2 separate regions of the Homo sapiens genome follow, and region 2 is linked to region 1. Evidence: promoter capture Hi-C in human tissues and cell types (Jung and others, 2019). All regions are on one chromosome and are shown on one strand. The core of a region is centred on a gene start or on the middle of the fragment in contact, and the rest is flanking DNA. Distances in the headings are between cores, read along the strand shown. Region 1 holds the start of SLC16A13 (solute carrier family 16 member 13). Region 2 overlaps DLG4 (discs large MAGUK scaffold protein 4).

Region 1 (5,875 bases), core at 3,182-5,681:
AATCTTTTTTGACTACATGTGGCACCTCCTGGACACAGGGTGGGAGTTGGATCCCCAAGGCTTCAGGCAACCCAGCCCTGTGGCTTTGGTGGGTGGGCTGGAGTCTGGTGCCTGAAGTTTCCTGGGGGGAGGGGGGCGCTGCCTGCTGCCTGTGATTCCAAAGTTCTGGGGGCCTGGTGGTGGTCCTGCTTCCACGGCTGTACTAGGCATTGCCCTACTGGGGACTGTGTGCATTGGCCTTGTTCCTATGGCTCCACCAAGGACTACCCCAGTGGGGGCTCTGCAGTGGCCTTGCTTCCACAATTCCAATAGGCATTGTCCTGGCAGGCACTCTCTGAGGCAACTTCAACATCACATTGCTGCTGGGTATTGCTCTGGTGGGGGCTCTCTGCAGTGGCTCTGCCCCTGTGACAAGTCCCTGCCTGGGCCCCTAGGCTTTCAACAACATCCTTTGAAATCCATGTGGAGACTGCCAAGCCTTCACAGCTCTTACTTTCTGCAAGACTGCAGAATTAGCACCACAAGGATGCAGCAAAGGTCTATGATTTGCACCTTCTGGAGCTTCAATACAAGCAACACACACACACACACACACACACACACACACACACACACAAGGAACACCTGGGGCCACTTAAGCCACCACCAGGCTGGGGTGGCCACAGAGTGCTACACTGGGGTGTGGGGTGCAGAGTCCTGAGGTTGCCCTGGGCGGTGAGCCCATGGAGAGCACCCAGGGCCTGTACCCTGAAACCCTCTGTCCTCCAAGGCCTCTGGGCCTGTGATGGGAGGGGCAGCCTCAAAGACCTCTGAAATGAGTTCAGGGACTTTCTTCCATTTTCTTGAGGAAGAGCACCTGGCTCCTTTTTAGCCATGTTAATCTTTTTAGCAAGAAGTGGCTTGGCCACGCCCTTGGATTCATCTCCTGAAAATGCTCTTTCATTCTCTACCACATGGCCAGGCTGAGAATTTTCCAAATGTTTCCACTCTGTTTCTTTTCTCTGTGAGATCATCTTAAGCAGTTAGAAGCAACCACACAGCAGCCTCAGCATTTTGCTGCTTAGAAATGTCTTCTGCCTGCCAGATACCCTAGTTCATCACTCTCAACTTCAGCCTTCCACAAAGCCCTTGGGCATGGATACAGTTTAGCCAAGCTCTTTGCCAGTTCGTAACAAGGATGGCCTTTACTCCAGTTTTCAATACCTTGCTCCTCAGTTCCATCTGAAAGCTCATCAGAATGGCTTTTGCTTCCATATTTCTTTTTTTTTTTTTTTTTTTTGAGATGGAGTCTCGCTCTTTCGCCCAGGCTGGAGTGCAGTGGCACGATCTCGGCTCACTGCAACCTCCGACTCCCTGGTTCAAGCGATTCTCCTGCCTCACCCTCCCGAGTAGCTGGGATTACAGGCGAGTGCTACCATGCCCAGCTAATTTTTGTATTTTTAGTAGAGACAGGTTTCACCATGTTGGCCAGGATGGTCTCAATCTCCTGACCTCATGATCCGCCCACCTCAGCTTTCCAAAGTGCTGGGATTACAGGCGTGAGCCACCCCGCCCAGCTGCTTCCATATTTCTATCAACATTCTAGTCATAAACACTTAACCAATCTCTAAAGAATTCCAAACTTTTCTTAGTCTTCTTGTCTTCTAAGACCTCTCCAGAATCTAGGCTTTTTCTAGCCTACTCCTCCAAATGCTTCCAGCCTCTGCCCATCACCCACTTCCAAAGCCACTTCATCATTTTCCGTTATTCATTATCAGCAACACCCCACTTCTTGGTACCAGTTTTCTGTCTCATTCAGTTCATTTTCTGTTGCTTACAACAGATTATCTGAAACTGGGTAATTTATAAAGAAAATGAATTTATTTCTTATAGTATGGAGGCTGAGAAATCCAAGGTCCAGGGGCCTCACCCTCTAGTGAGGGTTTTCTTGCTGATATGGACTCTCTGTGGCACAGGGTGTCACATGGCAAAGGGGGCTAAGCATGCTAATGTTCTAGCTTGGATCTGTCTGAAAAAGCCGACAATTCCCCTCCCATGATAACCCATTAATCTATTAACCTTTTAGTCCTTTATGATGGGGTTAATCTGTTAACCTATTAATCCATTATGGTGGGCTAATTCATGGGGATTAATTAATCCATTAATCCCATCCAATCACCTTTTAAAGTTTCCACCTCTCAGTACCGCCAAGTTGGGGATTAAGTTTCAATATGAGTTTTTGGAGGTAACATTCAAACCATCGCAGTGGTCGTTTCTCAATCTTTTTAAACCCATGACCTGGATTAGATTTTTTTTTTTTTTAATCAAAAAACAAAAACTAGGCAGGGCATGGTGGCTCACGCCTATAATCCCAGCACTTTGGGAGGCCCAGGCAGGCAGATCACCTGAGGTCAGGAGTTCGAGACCAGCCTGACCAAAATGGTGAAACCCTGTCTCTACTAAAAATACAAAAAATTTAGCCAGGCATAGTGGCAAACACCTGTAGTCCCACCTATTCGGGAGACTGAGGCAGGAGAATCACTTGAACCCAGGAGGTGGAGGTCGCAGTGAGCCGAGATCATGCCATTGCACTCCAGCCTGGGAGACAAGAGCAAAACTCCATCTCAAAACAAAAAACAAAAAACAAAAAAAAAAACACTAAACTAAAACCTTCCTTCACTTCCCACTACAGCAGCTTATCCCCTGTTGAAAATAACACCAATAAGACCAGCTAAGCTAATATTACTTGGCTCCTGCTGCATGTCAGCACATAAACTAAGCATTTTTAGTGCATGGATTTTCTAACTGAACCCCTTGGGCAACGCTTAATAGTAGGTACTATTATCCCCAGTTTACAGATGGGGAAACCAACTGAGAGATTCAGCATCTTGATCGAGTTAAGTAATAAAGTCAAGATTGGAACTGGGCCAGGCACGGTGGCTCACGCCTGTAATCCCAGAACTTTGGGAGGCCAAGGCTGGTGGATCACTTGAGGTCAGGAGTTCGAGACCAGCGTGGCCAACATGGTGAGACCTCGTCTCTACTAAAAATACCAAAATTAACTGGGCGTTGTGGTGGGAGCCTGTAATCCCAGAAACTCAGGAGACTGAGGCAGGAGAATCACTTGAACCCGGGAGGTGGAGGTTGCAGTGAGCCAAGATCATGCCACTGCACTCCAGCCTGGGCCACAGAGCAAGACTCCATCTCAAAATAAATAAATAAATAAATAAATAAATAAATAAATAAATAAATAAAAGACTGGAACTGTGATCTGATTCTAAAGACCCGAGTTCTTAATCACTATGTAATACAGCCACAGCAATTTCTGTATCTTTGGCATATTCCCCACCAGCCGACATTTTGACTCTTAGAAAGTATATATGTGTATTATTGATGATTACTTTTATTTCCCACATATAAAATTATTTAAGGCTCAATATGTCTTTTAAGACTACACACCTCCCTCCCTGCCTCCACTTCTTGTTTGCTGCTTTCCCCAGTAATCTGGGAGTGAACATTGAGTCCACGGTTTCAAGGTCAGGGTCCTGGGAAGTATGGCTTATAATGAAGGAACAGGAAATCCAAGCCATTGGTGTTATGGAGACTGGGAAGGACTGGGGAGTGTTTGCTAGGGGCCTGAGGACTACTTGGGTAAGAGGGGGCTGACTGCTCCAGTGGCCAGGGTCATAGTTTGTCTCTTTAGTCTACCCCACCATCAGATCAAAAAAGGTGGTTAGGAAGTGGTTGTTACTAGAGGGCAGAGGAAAAGGTTCCAGCCCCAGTGAGGAAGAGGTAGGTGGTGTTGGTGGGGCCCTGTGTGAGCTTACAGCCGCCCTTCCTCTCCTCAGTTATTTTTGGTCTCTGTGACCTGTAGGTTTCCTGTTAGTGGGAACAGAAGTGACAGGAACGAGTTCCCACTACAGAAATGAACGCCAGGAGTCCAACTCATTCCCCTTCTCTCTTCCCTTAGCCGTTGAACTTCTCAGGGATCCAGGCTTCTAGGTCTGCGTGCCTAGGGCTGCGTGTTAGTGGCTTCAGGCGCTGCGCCAAACACTTCGTTTGAGTCTCATCTCCTAACCCCTCCCCTACCCCCAACAGGGCCTTGCAATTCCTGGACCCCTCATTAAAGCAAGAGAGTCCTCTCCTCTCCAGACCCAGTTTACCCACCACTAACCCTTCCGTGTGGCTCTGGGTGCTGAAACGGGGATGACTTGGCCCGCTAGGTGAAGAGGAGACGGAAGCTTCCTGGCAGTCCCCGCGTCACGTGGGGCCCTACCTAGTCAGCCTCCTAACGCCCCTCCTTACGCATGCGCCCATTCACTGCTGGTCCCCAACAATGCCTAAATCCCGCCCTGCCCTTCTCGTTCCGCCCCTGCCCGGGAGCCCCGCGTCCTCATTGGCGAGCTCCAGGGTGGCCCGGCCCGGACACCCCAGTGATAAAATAGATCATCTACACGGAAACTGGCGCGCTCCAGGGGTGGGGCCCAAACTCAGTTCCACCCTCTGGCTCCCAGCCGAACACCGAACCGGGACCGATCCGGCCCCGGCTTGAACTAGCTCAGCTCCGAGCTCGCGGAACCACGCCCCCGGGAGACTCTGGCCCGGCCAGCGCGGGCCAGGTCTTCAGTCCTATATCGCCCCGCCTTGGGAAAAGGTGCAGGGGCCTCTCGCCGCCTCGTCGGGCCCTTCCTCTCTACCTGCCTCTCCAACCCCTCTCGGCCCCGAGCCACCCGGCAGCGGGGGTGGGTGTGCAGAGGTGCGGCGTCCAGAACCCGGCTCCTGCAGAGGCTCTGGGTGGCAGCAGCCCTGTTACCGCTTAGATGGCGCGCAGGACAGAGCCCCCCGACGGGGGCTGGGGATGGGTGGTGGTGCTCTCAGCGTTCTTCCAGTCGGCGCTTGTGTTTGGGGTGCTCCGCTCCTTTGGGGTCTTCTTCGTGGAGTTTGTGGCGGCGTTTGAGGAGCAGGCAGCGCGCGTCTCCTGGATCGCCTCCATAGGAATCGCGGTGCAGCAGTTTGGGAGTGAGTGCGGCGCCTGGATCTGGCGGACTGCGACCCTCGGAAGGGAGAGGGAATGCGGCGACTGGGAAGTGGAAGGGCGAGGGGCGGGAGATGCTGGGGGGGAGACCCCTGAGATCTTCTCGCAGCGCCCCTTCCACTTCCTCAGGCCCGGTAGGCAGTGCCCTGAGCACGAAGTTCGGGCCCAGGCCCGTGGTGATGACTGGAGGCATCTTGGCTGCGCTGGGGATGCTGCTCGCCTCTTTTGCTACTTCCTTGACCCACCTATACCTGAGTATTGGGTTGCTGTCAGGTGAGAGCCTGCACAAGGGCAGGAGAGTCAAATGCTTAGATCGTTGGATGTTCACCTCCTTCCTGCTCCTTCCAAAGGGTTCGGGGAGAAGCTGAGGGAAAGTTTAGCTAGCACCTGTACCCAGAAGGGAATTCTTAATAGGAATGACTAAAGCGACAAACATGGTGAGGAATTAGGAAATTCAAGGATGATGAAACCTGGCCGGGCACGGTGGCTCACGCCTGTAATCCCAGCACTTTGGGAAGCCGAGGCGGGTGGATCACGAGGTCAGGAGTTTGAGACCAGCCTGGCCAACATGGTGAAACCCCGTCTCTACAAAAATACAAAAATTAGCCGGGCCTGGTGGCGCTAATCCCAGTTACTCGGGAGGCTGAGGCAGGAGAATCGCTTGAACCCGGGAGGCGGAGGTTGCAGTGAGCCAAGATCGCACCACTGCACTCCAGCCTGGGCGACAGAGCAAGATTCTGTCTCAAAAAAAAAAAAAAAAAAGATGAAACCAAGTATACAAGCCCAGAAGCCCAGGGCTAATGGGACTGGAGTGTAAAAGGAAGAATTACTATAAAATGGTGCTAGGGGCCAGGCACGGTG
Region 2 (6,132 bases), core at 2,733-5,232, 150 kb after region 1:
ACGTGCTAGCTGATTTTATTTTTATTATTCTCACTAGCAACACAGCCATGAGTTGCATTAGACCTCCAAGGCCTCTTCCAGTTTGGGAGGAGGAGAAAAGGGAGAAGATTGGGATCAGGATGGCAGAGGATGTCTGTCCCCACACCCCAGAGGGTGGTTATAGCAACTTCGCTGGGACAGAGCTGGAGGCCCGGGGGTTATCTGAGTTGAGACAGTCCCTTCCCCTGCTATGGAGAAGGATTCTGAGCTCCCTCAGTCCTTGCCAACCCTCTCAGAGCACTTTCCAGCCTCATGTTTGGGATGGGCCTGTGCACCCAAGGGCTGGAGCTAGACCTCCTCCCAGGCCTGCAGGGAGTCTAATACCCGCAGATCTGAAAAGAGGCACCTGAACAAACAGGCAGGAGGGGCAAAGCAGAGGCTCTTCACGAACTTCCCAAAGAGGGCGGCCTATGGTCCCATATCTAGAAGAGGCTGAGCAGGAATTGGGTTGAGATGAAGCAGGGGAGGTTGAGGAAAAGGAAGGCTATCCTCCAACCTTTCGGGCTGGAGGGCTGTGCGCCAGGGCAAGGGAAGAGGGGGACCACCAGTGCTGAAAGGAGCAGACGGGCCTCTGCACACAAGTTTAAATCTGAGCTGACACAACCCACCCCAAGGGCTTCAATATCCCATCTCTGCAGTTGACAAGAAGCCGGCCTGCAGGAATGGGGGCCCAAGCTCCCTGTCTCCAGTAGGGTCTCTCTCCCCCCAGCTCTCTCCTCCTCAATGCCACTCTGTCCACCCCAGGCACACCTTTTCAACCTTGGGACAGCCAGGATTCTCTGACCCAGGACCCTCTCTATACCTCTTTCCTACTTTTTTTTTGAGACAGAGTCTTGCCCTGTCGCCCAAGCTGGAGTGCAGTGGCGCAATCTCAGCTGACTGTAAACTCCGCCTCCCGGGTTCAAGGGATTCTCCTGCCTCAGCCTCCCCAGTAGCTGGGATTACAGGCGCCCGCCACCACCCCCAGCTTTTTTTGTTTGTTTGTTTTTTTAGTAGAGACAGGGTTTCACCATGTTGGCCAGGCTGGTCTTGAACTCCTGACCTCGTGATCTGCCCACCTCAGCCTCCCAAAGTGCTGGGATTACAGGCGTGAGCCACCATGCCAGGCCTGCCTCTTTCCTACTTTTTGAGGGTAAAACTTGTTAAAACTCCAAATGATTCCAGGCTTTAACTTTTGGGCTTATGCATATCTGAAAATAGACCAAGAGGCCAATGACAATAATTGCTACCATTTTCTACCATGCGTCAGGCACTGTGCTGAGGGCTTTACGTGTACTTTCCAGTTTATTCCTCCCAAGTATCCACCAAGGTAGGTAGTTATTTCCATTTTACAGCTAGGTATACTGAGGCTTAGAGAGGTTAAGCTCTCCCCAGAGTGACAGTGACTCCACCATCGTCCCTCATCCTAACGCCAGCAACAGCCTAGCTGGCTCTCCATTGCCCCCTGCTGTGTATTCCCCTTCACACCCAGAGTAACTGGCTCACGGTTCCCTCCACAGCCCTCCAGCAGCTTCTACACCACTCTGAAAAATCCACGGGAAGTCCTGTGTGCCACGCCTCTCTGACTTCTCTGACACACCTATTTCTCTCTGTCCCCCACCCTACTCCACTCCAGTGGCCTCCTTCTGTCCTCCAACCTTTCAAATTTATTCCTTCCAGACTGTTCGTCTCCCTACTTGGCACACTCTCACCACCCCAGTCTTTGTTGTCCTTCAGGCCTCCACCCAAATGATGCTGCAAGGGGCCTCCCTGACCGCCCGGTCTAAACCAGCAAGGGCCATCACTCTCTTTCATAGTAGCACCCATCATTGTCTAAACACTCTGTGTTCACTTACTCCCTATAGTCTGTCATCTCCACTGGATGCACCCAAAGTTCCCTAAGGACAGGGATGTTGCCTTCCCAGCATCTAGAACACTGCCTGGTTCCAAGGAACATCCAAGGAAGTATTTACTGAAAGAAGTAAAAAGTGTGGGGAGAAGAGGAACCAGGATTTGAACCTATGTTGTTTGGGAGCCCAGGGCTCCAATGCATTAATTACATTGCCTTCTCAAGCGGCCAGGCCATGGCCTTGGAAGAATACAGCCCCAGCGGCAACCGTGCTTCCCCTGAGGAATAATGCCTGGAGGGAAACAGGAAGGAAACTTTTTAAAAACAGTATGTATTTCTATATTTATTTGAATTGTTGTCAGGTACGTGTACTGATTATAATTTACAAAATAATGCATGCAGGCCAGGCGCGGTGGCTCATGCCTGTAATCCTAGCACTTTGGGAGGCCGAGGGGGGGGGGGGTGGATCACCCGAGGTCAGGAGTTCGAGACCAGCCTGATCAATATGGTGAAATCCCCATCTCTACTAAATACAAAAAATTAGCTGGGCGTGGTGGCATGCACCTGTAATCCCAGCTACTCGGGAGGCTGAGGCAGGAGAATAGCTTGAATCCGGAAGGCAGAGGTTGCAGTGAGCAGAGATCGCACCACTGCACTCCAGCCTGGGCAACAAGAGCGAAACTCTGTCTCCAATAATAATAATAATAATAATAATAATAATACATGCAAAATTATGTGATTCTACCCCATCCAGGTCAAATATGTGATTCTGCCCCTTCTAGTTTAACACGCAGACGCATTACCTGCACACACCTTCCTCAGCTCCTAGATTTCTCCCTTCAGCTCACGATAGAGAACGTTATCACAGCCTCAAGCCATCTGCTATTACACAGAACCAAGCTAAGAGAAGGATTATTTGAAAAACATCAGGGCCAGGTGCAGTGGCTCACGCCTGTAATCCCAGCACTTTGGGAGGCCAAGGCGGGCAGATCACCTGAGGTCAAGAGTTTGAGACCAGCTTGGCTAACATGGTGAAACCCCGTTTCTACTAAAAATATTAAAAAATAGCTGTGTGTTATGGCACGCATCTGTAATCCCAGCTACTTGGGAAGCTGAGGCAGGAGAATCACTTGAACCCTGGAGTTGGAGGTTGCAGTGAGCCGAGATCGCGCCATTGCACTCCAGCTTGGGCAACAAAAGTGAAACTCGACCTCAAAAAAAAAAAAAAAAAAATCCTCTGAAGCAGTGCTTCTCCACCCAGTGAGACATCAAAATCACCCGGGAGCTTTCCAGAAATGCAGACCCCTGGTCCCTATCCCCAGGATCCTGATGGACTCGGTCCTGCATAGAAAATCCTGCAGGGCAATACGTGGCTACTGGTTGAAGTGACACCCCTTCAGCAATCTCTGCCTCTATTCTTGGACTACTTTAGGCTTGGACGGCCATGCCATCCACAGAATCACTACCCCTGGGTTGGTCTTTTGCATGAAACTCTCAACTTTAGTCAGGAGTGGCTACAAAAAATGCCCTTTTGCACTGTTTGGGATTTAACCACCATAACTCTTAGGGCCCTCTGCCTCAGCCTTACCCACTGGAGCACCTGAGAATCAGAGAAAGGAATAGTACCCCAGCAGGTGCCCCCAAAGGTTCATCTGTGCCAAACACATGAAGAAGGCAGAAGGCTGAGAGTCACCATTCTACATAGCAGGATCTCAGGAGCTTCAGTTAGGACTTAGGGCCAGGAAAATATGACTCCCTAAAAGAACTAAAATTATTTCTCCCTTATAATAAAGAAGTAGGTAATTGACAATTTCCTTTTTTGCCATGGCTATCAGGAAGCTCAGAGATCACATTTACCCTCACAGTTCATATACATTTCTCCAGTTTTCATCTTTGGCATTTAGATTCTTATTTTCCTACCCTCATTATTTACAAAGCTGCCTCAGATCTTTCCCATAGAGATAGGACATAAAGGCTGGGCGTAGTGGCTCATGCCTGTAATCTTAACACTGTGGGAGGCCAAGCTGGGCGGATCACCTGAGGTCAGGAGTTCGAGACCAGCCTGGCCAACAAAGCAAAACCCCATCTCTACTAAAAATACAAAAATTAGCCAGGAGTGGTGGCAGGCGCCTGTAATCCCAGCTATTCGAGAGGCTGAGGCAGGAGAACCGTGTGAACCCAGCAGGCAGAGGTTGCAGTGAGCCAAGATCGCACCACAGCACTCCAGCCTGAGCGAAAGAGCGAAACTCTGTCTCAAAAAAAAAAAAAAAAGGGTGGGGGGGGCGCATAAAGAAACCTAGCGTATATTCACACAGCAGTTCTTATCAGCAGAACTCTGTAAAGATCATTTCCAGGCCAGGCGCGGTGGCTCACGCCTGTAATCCCAGCACTTTGGGAGGCTGAGGCGGGTGGATAACAAGGTCAGGAGTTCAAGACCAGCCTGACCAACATGGTGAAACCCCATCTCTACTAAAAATACAAAATTAGCCAGGCATGGTGGCAGTAATCTGTAATCCCAGCTACTCAGGGGGCTGAGGCAGGAGAATCACTTGAACCAGGGTGGCAGAGATCACAGTGAGCCGAGATCGAGCCACTGCACTCCAGCCTGTGCGACAGAGCAAGACTCTGTCTCAAAAAAAAAAACAAAAAAACAAAAAAAATCATTTCCAGATCCTAGCTCTGTCCACAACTCCATGAACATGAATGAACGAAGTTTCCTCTCTATTTTCCTTTAAGGACTGTTGTGCTTCCCAACAGGACTGAGACAGCCCGGCAGGGATCAGAGCTGGACTAAGTCTGCAGGGCCCCAGACAAGTTCCAGCCTCCCCTTTCTGGCCTGTCATGACTTTGGACAGAGCTCCAGACCTTCCCAGGCTCAGTCTTCACCAACTCGGGTTCCTTGATTTGCCAGTTACCTCCCTGGCCCATTTTCCAGGCCACTAACCTCTCTGGCTTGGAGTGAAGAAGGATCTGACTCTGCTGCGCCCATCTCCCTCCACACCCAGGTCCCAAATAACCAGGCCACACACCAAGTTTCAAGTATCTGTCTCTTCCTTTCACTCTCTCAAAAGAAAAAAATAAATAAATTGCAGAAGGCGGCAGCATTTCCAGTCTTCCCTGGCTCCCGGACACCCGACCCCCGACCCCTGCCCCCCACCCTCCCTCCCGCATTTCCCACTCCCTAGACCCATCCCTCCCTTTTCCCCAAAAAAATTCCCAGGAAAAAAAAAAAAAAAAGCCACATTTAGACCTTCCACTCATGCAAACCGGCAAAGAAAAATGGTGGGGGCATGTGGAAGGCAGGGGCCCGCTGCGGAGTCCCCTGCTTCTCCCCCCAAAAAACCACCTTTGAGAAGAAAAAAAGTGGAAAAAATAAATGAGAAATCAAGGAACATGGGGAATTACGATGAGGGCAGGGGTGACCCCAGACCCTGCCTTAGGAGAGAGCGGAGGCCTGTGGCCCTGCATCCCTGCAGCGGGTGCTCCTCGAGGGGGCCCTGACTTCTGGAATGTGTGTGGGAGAGGATGGGGGAGGGCAGGTGGCCCCCGGTGGGTCTGTGTGTGCATTGGGGGCAGGTGGGGGCGGGGATCCTAAGGAGCAAGGGCTCGGAACAAGGAGCCCAGCTCCCCCCCAGACCCCAGGTTCCTGGCGTTCAGGAGCCCAGTTCTGGGGTGCGGGGATACATGCAGAGGAGTGTCCCCCCTCCAACAGGCTGGATCCAGTTAGAAAGGAAATAAATAAGAAGGGGTGGGAGGGAGGCCGGGGGGAGCCAAGGGCTTGGGCAATTCAGTCCAGACCAAGGGCCCAGGTGATGGAGGCAGGGCGAGTCCAGGCCAAGCCAGGGCAGGAATCAGAGTCTCTCTCGGGCTGGAACCCAGATGTAGGGGCCTGAGAGGTCCTCGATGACACGCTTCACCTTGTGGTAGATCTCCTCAAAGCTGTCACCCTCCACGATGGCTGGGAGTGGGGTGGAGCAGGGAGTGAGGCCAAGGAAGGGCCAGAGGACACCTGGCCAAGGGGGTTGCACCAGCCCAGAGGAAGGGGCACCTCTTTCCAACTCTCCAAGCCATAAGTCCTGGGGCTGCACCCGCCCACAGGGGCACCTCTTTTTTTTTTTTTTTTTTTTTTTTGAGATTGAGTTTTGCTCTTAGCGCCAGGCTGGAGTGCAGTGGTGCGATCTCGGCTCACTGCAACCTCTGCCTCCCAGGTTCAAGCGATTCTCCTGCCTCGGCCTACCGAGTAGCTGGGATTACAGGTGCCCGCC

The links. Contacts are between HindIII fragments. The study calls those that stand out against the background at their distance.
Region 2: a contact is called between a fragment that was not itself captured here and the fragment with the promoter of SLC16A13 in region 1, in 1 of the 25 tissues and cell types used here (liver).

What each region holds. Positions count from the first base shown.
Region 1 is chr17:7,031,584-7,037,458 of GRCh38, forward strand. SLC16A13 (solute carrier family 16 member 13) reads left to right here and starts at 4,432. Exons shown (of 4, transcript NM_201566.3): 1 at 4,432-4,998; 2 at 5,144-5,287. The coding sequence starts at 4,800. RefSeq lists enhancers at 3,871-4,371, 3,980-4,029, 4,760-4,999. The HindIII fragment of the contact is 7,914 bases long and covers 1-5,875 here.
Region 2 is chr17:7,184,990-7,191,121 of GRCh38, forward strand. It overlaps DLG4 (discs large MAGUK scaffold protein 4), which reads right to left. Exons shown (of 20, transcript NM_001321075.3): 20 at 2,198-5,825. The coding sequence ends at 5,719. Among named protein-coding and RNA genes, the nearest start is that of ASGR1, 8.7 kb to the left of the region's middle. RefSeq lists a silencer at 1,663-1,832. The HindIII fragment of the contact is 8,875 bases long and covers 1-6,132 here.